Linked DNA regions of Homo sapiens: region 2 is linked to region 1. Evidence: promoter capture Hi-C in human tissues and cell types (Jung and others, 2019). All regions are on one chromosome and are shown on one strand. Each heading gives the region's core, a stretch centred on a gene start or on the middle of the fragment in contact. The rest is flanking DNA. Distances are from core to core; before and after follow the strand shown. Region 1 holds the start of B3GAT1 (beta-1,3-glucuronyltransferase 1). Region 2 overlaps B3GAT1-DT (B3GAT1 divergent transcript).

What was found. Contacts are between HindIII fragments. The study calls those that stand out against the background at their distance.
Region 2: a fragment that was not itself captured here is called in contact with the fragment with the promoter of B3GAT1 in region 1 in 2 of the 25 tissues and cell types used here (dorsolateral prefrontal cortex and pancreas).

What each region holds. Positions count from the first base shown.
Region 1 is chr11:134,410,478-134,414,071 of GRCh38, reverse strand. B3GAT1 (beta-1,3-glucuronyltransferase 1) reads left to right here and starts at 1,830. Exons shown (of 6, transcript NM_054025.3): 1 at 1,830-2,265. RefSeq lists an enhancer at 2,682-3,241. The HindIII fragment of the contact is 21,477 bases long and covers 1-3,594 here.
Region 2 is chr11:134,463,327-134,466,946 of GRCh38, reverse strand. B3GAT1-DT (B3GAT1 divergent transcript) reads right to left here. Exons shown (of 6, transcript NR_033852.1): 2 at 1-607. Among named protein-coding and RNA genes, the nearest start is that of B3GAT1-DT, 29 kb to the right of the region's middle. RefSeq lists enhancers at 1-383, 384-949. The HindIII fragment of the contact is 3,603 bases long and covers 491-3,620 here.

The DNA of each region.
Region 1 (3,594 bases), core at 581-3,080:
CTCTTGAGATCACCCCTCATGGGTGTGTTTCCCTGTTGGTAAAATGAGGGTCTGGAACGAGACAGTCTTCACGGTCATTTCTGTCCTCCCATTTGGTGATTGTGTGACTGCGGCTGGCTGGCTTAGCAGAGGAGGGAGGCAATGTGCCCTCCTGGACGGCCTGGCCCCTCCTTGGTGCTCTCTGGTACCCCCGCCCATCCTGCTTCTGCACCTGCCCTTCCCCTCCCTTCAGCTGGTGTGGAGTCTAAGGAGAAGCAGAGTATGGAGACTAGGAAAATACCAGAGAACACCGACTTAGGAAAGGTCTCTTAGCAGAGTCTAAAAGAGAGGGTTGTAGTAGGGGCAGAAGAAGGCGGAGCAAGGCTGGCTGGGATTCCACTCATTAAGAGAAGGGGGAAATGCTCCTGTACCGCAGCAGGAGGTACTGAGGTTAGATTCAGAGGAAGTTTCTTGCCGGCAAAGGGGGCTGTTAAGCACAACAATGAAAGAGCGCACGACAAGGAGGAGCAGTTATCCCTAGAGATAGTCACTAAGGACACTTTCACATGTCTGTGGCATGATACGGACGGTGAGGTGCCTTCCTCCCCTCAAAATCTTGACCAAAGGGGCTGATTCTGGAGTCTCTGCCCCCTCCCCACCTGCACATCCTCAGTGGGAAGAGCAGGGCCCGGCTTGGTCCTAACAGGGCAGGAAAGCTGATGGAAAAGAGGCCCGTGGTCCTCAGCCCCAGCCCATAGCACGGGGGCACAGCTCTGGTTAAGCAGTGCCTAGCAGTGGGGCTGGAACTGGTTTCCCGGGAAGGAGGGAGACCCTAGAGAAAGTACCGACAGTCCCTGGTCCCGCCGCGAACCCCGCCATGGGAGGTGGCCTTCTCCTGGGGCTGTGAAGAGGACACAGCGGGTGTGGCCCGAATACAGGTGTCCAAGAGCACCGGGAGATGCCAACCTCTAAAACGAGTGCAAGGATGGCTTCAAAGTCTCCGACAAGCTGAAGGAGTATCTGGAATATACAGCTCCACAGAGGCACCCTACCAGTGCACCCACATACGTCCAAGTGCGCGCCCACTCACTGGCCTCCGTCCCCCGCCGACCAACACACCGCGGCAGAGGCCCGGGAAACTCCTGGAGATCCCGCTGCCCCCGGCCTCCCCGCGCCCGTCCGCCCACGCAGGCCTCCCGGGCCTCTCTCCGGAACGCCGGGTGCACCGGCCCGGAAGGGGAGGCTGGGGTGAGGCTGACGCGCGGCGGCTCGAGGTGCCCTTCCACGGGGCAGCAGACCCCGTACCCCGGCACGGCACCGTCCGCCCCCACCGGCCACCTCCCATCCGGGGTGCCTGGAGCCAAGGAAGGAGCCGCATCCCCCACCGGCTTCCCAGCTCGGCCTCTCGGTCCCAGAGCGCCGCCCCCCGCCCTCCTGCAGCAGCCCGGCCGGAAACAATCACCCTTTGAGAGAGGCTGCCAAGCTGGGCGCCAGGAGCAGCCAGGATGGAGGCGGGGTGGAATGGGGGTGCAGGCGGGGGCCGAGCTTTAACTCTCGAGAGCCGAGATCTGGGGGTGCGCTCGGCCCCTGCCCGCCACCCCTGCTCCGCCGCCTGAAGCGGGAGCCGCCTCCGCGGGGGACGGTGCCGGGGGAGGGTGGGGGGCGGTGGGGAGGTGATACCAATCCCGGGGGGGGGTCCCCTCGCCGGCCTCCCTCCTCGCGCCCCCGCCTAGGCTGGCGAGGTTGGTACCGACCATTAGCAGCTCGGGTCCCGCCGGCGCTGGCGCGGGCTCGGGGCGGGGGCGGGGCGGGGGCGGAGAGCGGGTGGGGGCGGGGCGGGAGGCGCCGGCAGAGCCGCGGCGGCACCGGCGCATCCGCCGCCACCTCGGGGACTCTGCGCCGGCCCGGTCGGCTCGGCTCCGGCCGCGCGCCCCCCTCGCCCCTCTCGCCCCCGCGCCCGCTCCCCGCTCCCCCTCCCCGCTCCCCCTCCCCGCCCCCCGCCCCCCGCCTCCCTGCCCGCGCCCTCCCTCCCGCGCGCTCCCAGCCTTCGGCCGCCGCCTCGCTGAGCCCAGAACGAGCCGGGCCGGGGCGGCGGGGCCGGGCGGGGCGGGCGGGCGCGCGGACCCCGCGGCTATGAAGTGGCCCCCGGGGGCCCGGAGCCCGACAGTCCCCGGGGAGGGAGCCGCACGCGGCCCAGGGCAGCGGTCTAGGGGCGCCGGGGCCGGGGCGTAGGGGCCGTTGCCCGCGATGGACCGCACCGGAGACGCTCCGGACTCGTCGCCGCAGGTCAGTGCTCCCCGCGCCCCCGCGGGCGCCCCGCCGCGCACAGAGCCCCTTTCTGCGTCCCCATCGGTGCCCACGCCATGTCCTCCCGGGCGCGCGCTGGGGTGTGTGTGTGTGTGTGTGTGTGTGTGTGTGTGTGCGCTGCGCGCGCTGGGGGCAGCTGGAAAGGGGGCCGAGAACCGAGCTCGGGCTGGGAGGCGCTGCTGCCGAGGGGCTGCGAAACAAAACCCGGCACAGCCTGCCCTCGTCGACCGGGATTAGGGGAAGAGCTGGTTCTCAGCAGCTTCTAACAATCGGCCCGGGCTCTCAGTCGTCAGTTCCCGGCCCCCTCAGCAGGTGGTTTCTGGTGGCCGGATGAGGAGTCAGGGGTCAGTCGTCCCCCACCTCCCCACCCCTGCTGCCCAACAGCGCTCTCTGGATCGCTCTCTGGCTCCTGGGCACTGCCAAGTTAACTCTCTTGAGGGGGCCCGAGCTCTGCGGGGCGCGCTGAGGGACCCAGGGGTAGCAAGGGTGGCAAAGGGCCCTTGGGACCTTCGGTGTAGCAAGGAGGAAGGAGGCGCGACCAGTTCACCACCCTCCCATCTGCACCTGGGCTCAGGTCTGAGGTCCCAATCCCTCCAAAGTCAGAGCACACAACTTCCAGAAAAAGGAGGCTGAGAGTTGAGGCAGGAAATAGAGAAGGAAGCCACCAGGTCCGACAGTGCCAGGGTAAGGAGGTGACAGCCCCGTACCAAGCAGCTAAGGTCAAGAACCACCCCCACATGCACACACATGGGAGCCTTGGCCAACTTCCCTGTCCCCTTCCTCCCCCAGCCAGGCCTAGCTGCATGGATTCTTGTAGAAGCTGGAGCTGAAGGACTCTGGACATACAGGAAGGGGACCTTTACTGACAGTTGCTAGCCCAGTGCATGGGCACCTGCATAGGTGGGGTGCCCAATGGGGCCTAGAGCTTGGGCTGTGTAGCACGCACTGTTGAAAATGTTGGGGTACGGATGTCGTAGGGCCTAGCACTGTGCAATGCCTGGATGTGTTTGTGTGGAAATGGGAGGCACATCACTCCCTAAGTTACTAGGGCTGTGGGGCATGTGGCTGCACAGGACTGTTGTTCTAGGGTTTTCTAAGATTTGTCTTCTGTGCTTATGTCGCCCTACCTCTGCTGGTAGCCACTGCAGAGACTGAGACATTTCCTCCCAGAGTCTGCTCAGTTGGTGACCATTAATGGCCTTACTGGACCAAACATCAAGCCTTCCCTTTCTTCCCATGGGGTGAAGACCCTTTCCCAGGGTCTTCAGACAGACTTCTCACTCTGCCCAGTCCATGCCCAGCACTGCC
Region 2 (3,620 bases), core at 1,043-3,542, 52 kb before region 1:
TCTCAACGCAGAGCTTTGGGGAGTGGGGTGGGGGAGAAAACAGGAATGGAGAATAGAAGAAAAGAAAGAGAGAAGGAGGGAGGGAGAGGGGAGAAAATGCAGCGCTAACTGGCATTGACCAAGAGCCAAGCACGAGCTAAGCACGTCATGGGCTTTACCTCTTTAATCTCATTTAACTTTCACAACAATCCTCTGAAGTTAGAATGATTTTCCGTGCTCTCGAGATGAGGAAACTGTGTCTCAGGAAAAGTAAGTAAGCTCTCAACACCTGTTACTCAAACCTGGGCCTTGAGACTCATGCCCGTGCTGCCCAGGGCAGCCCCCTCCATGGTGCCCACCGCGGCCGCCGGCTCTGCAGCCCCTCGCTCACTCCTGTCCTGCAGCCCCGTGCTGAGGCTGCATTCTGGCATCCAGGATCCATCCGGAGCTGCCGTGATTCCAGGGCGGCTCATGACTGTATAATTAAGGGGAAGGCAGAGGCGTCGCCAAATAGGACCAAGGGCCGACTGCAGGAGCTGCCAATCCTCCACACAGACGCACGCACGGCGCTCCTCTGAGGGGTGGGGAAGCCGTGGGGCCTCCTGTGGAGAAGCACATCCCATCTGCACTGCAAGAGGAAGCGTTTTGGTTAAGAAACAGCGCCTTATGCTCTTCACACAAATTCACCCAGACTCAGGAGTCAACAGCTGCTTGACTTTCCTGAAAACGGCTGGTGCAAGCCCTTCTCCAGGAGCACATGAAGTGGCCAGTCATGGCTGCCTCTGCGGAGAGGAAAACATGCTTGAAACTGAATTGCTTCCAGAAGGGAACTGTAACAAACTGTAACAAATCTTTTAATTTGACCCTCCCGCTCACTGTGTAGAAGGAACCCGTGGTGAATTTTGGCTGGATATGGGGCCACTGGGGCAATGTGGTTTGGGTTATGAGTGTGAGCTTCAGTGTGGCACATACCAGGCTCAAATCCATACCCTACTCTCACTGCGCTTACTTCAGATAAGTTCTTCAACCTCTGGGTAAGGCTCCATGCTAATAAGCTGTAATAATAACCCTGACACAGTCACTGTAAGGACTGAAGAGGCGACACATGGGTGGAACTAAGCACTTGGTAAGCCCCCCATACATGTGGGCAGTTACGGAGCAGAGAGAATGCAGGCCTGACACTGGGAGGGCAGGTCAGGGGTTGTTTTTTGCTGGGACAATTCTCAACATGTGTTTTTCCCTACAACCACCCTACTTCACCTATCATTGAGACGTAATTGAAATATGGCTTCTCCCAAAATTCAGGAAATCAGGGTCTAGAGAAGTTCTATTGTTAGGCATAGGCATATACAGTGTCATATGGTCTCCACTCCACCCACCCCTCCTGCCCCAGCAGATCCAGCATGCCATGCCTGGAAACAGGAGAGCTTCACAGGGCACTTACGGAATCCACCAAGCATCTCCTCCTAAGGGCCACTAGGACCAGCCCACAGACATGGGAAAGCGCTGACTACCTTGTTTGCTGTGATGTTTCAGTACATAACTCCTGTTCTCCTAGAGCATTTCTCTTTTGTAAGTGAATTGGTATAGTGCTTGAATCCAGAAGGAGGGATCCTGGACTCCCCTCGTAAGCTCCCGGGAGCTTAAGAAATCAGCTGACAATTTCCTGTTGTCGAATTGTTCTAGCAGCATGAATGCGTCCAGCATAGACTCTCCCTGGTGTGAACTGGCCTGAAAGTTTTTACACCATCCTTTGGCAAGGAAGATGAGAAGCTTTTCCGTGAAAGAGTACACACAGCCCATGCATGACATAGCTCCAGGTATGTGCTCATTGTGATAGGAAAGGGCATCGGGAGGCCGAGCACCTTCAGCAAGAGGCCTGTGAGAAATGATTATCTAGAGGGTGTCGCTTCCATTCCCAACTCATCCCAGGCAGAGGTGATTCTCACCTTGCATTCGGGGCCACAAATGAGCGCTCTTGCAAATAGGCAGCACAGAAGAGCATCTTCATCCAGACCTCTTAACTCTCATAGGAAACATTAAGGCCATGACTATCCCATCCCAGGACTTTATTATGGTGTGTTTTAAATGCCATTCACCCTCCAGGTGGCCCCTCTGCTCACAGAATAAGTTCTCTGTGGTCTTAAATCTGTTAGCAAAATGAGGATGTAAATCCTCAGTGACTTGAGCCTGCTGTTCATATTTCTGAATAATCTGGGAATTTTGAAAGCTTGGAGGTGACTGACCCTGATTTTAAAATGTACCCAGGATTTATTTTAATTGGACACGACAAGGCCAACAGATCAGGAGACGCTTGTCTTTGAAAAGATAGTTTGTTACAGTTCCCAAGAGGAGGGGCAGTCCATACCACCCCGCTCAGGGCCATGTGGAGAAGCACCAGGTCAGTCAGGGGTGGGGACGAGAGGAGAACTTGGGCAAAATCCTTGGGAGTGGTGAAAAGGAATGGGGAGGCAGGGGGAGGGCTGGGCAGGCTCAGGCCTGGGTAGTTTGGGATTCCAGAAGGCTCTGGTTACACGGGCAGTCTCTAGCTGCCCGGCACCTGGCCCTGAGATGATTAGGGCAGGGAGATAGTGTCCCAGACTGCAGGATCCTGATCACGGGCGCTCCAGCCTGGTGGGTTTGCATATCAAAGACCTGCTGGCAGGCAAGTTGCTGGTGATCTCCAGGAATGAGCAAACCCTGGGAGAGGCAGTCTCTCTCTGGGTCCTCAAGGGCATCATAAAATACAGAAAATAAAAACATAATTAATAAAACGTTTTCCAGTGGTCATATTGCATTTGAGTTATAAAGTGTTTTATGAGTAGTGTCATTAGTCTTATTGCTATACATGGTCTCCCTGTCTATACCCTTCTTTTGAATCATTATCAACATAATGTTAAATTCAGTCCAGAGGAAGCACTAAAGAATCCTCCACAGAACCTCACAAGGGGGCCCTGCACATTCTCCTCAAACATTCACAAGGGTGTGGCTCTGTGGTGCCAGCAGCACGGCCCTCAGCAAGCTGGTGGGCATGGAAAGCTGTGTTTCTATCCTACAGTTTCAACAAGCACAGCTCATCCAATGCCCTGGATAAAAGAAAGGAGAAAGAGCGAGATGTGAGTGCCAGTGTGGACGCCGTAAGCCATGAGGAGAAAGCCAGCATCCCTGCGGGCCCCTGTGTTCCTTACTTCAAGGGGTGGAGGGGCTCCTCAGTGTACCCTGGGAACCTGGCTGCTCAGAAGGACATCTTTAGCAAACTCCAAAGCAGGGCTCCTGGCCCTAGAAAAGGATAGCATTTTACCTCACAAATGGGACTTACAGACGTATTTATCAAATTATTATTATTTCACAAGGTAATGCTCAATTTTATACATTTTTTTTTGTTTCTTAATGCTGTCTATAACCTACCAAACTGATTTCACAAGCAGTCATGGGTTTTAACCTGCAGTGTGAAAAAGCTGCTCTAAAGAAACGCAAAGCCTTCCAGGAGACTCAGTGAGATGCCACAGCTGATATCGTACAGGTAGTTTATTTTTAACTAAATATATTTACTCTTTTTATAAAAATGACATATTTTCCATGTAAAAATTCAAACATGTGAAATCCCCCCAAAAAAGAGAAAAAAAAAACTCTCTCAGACC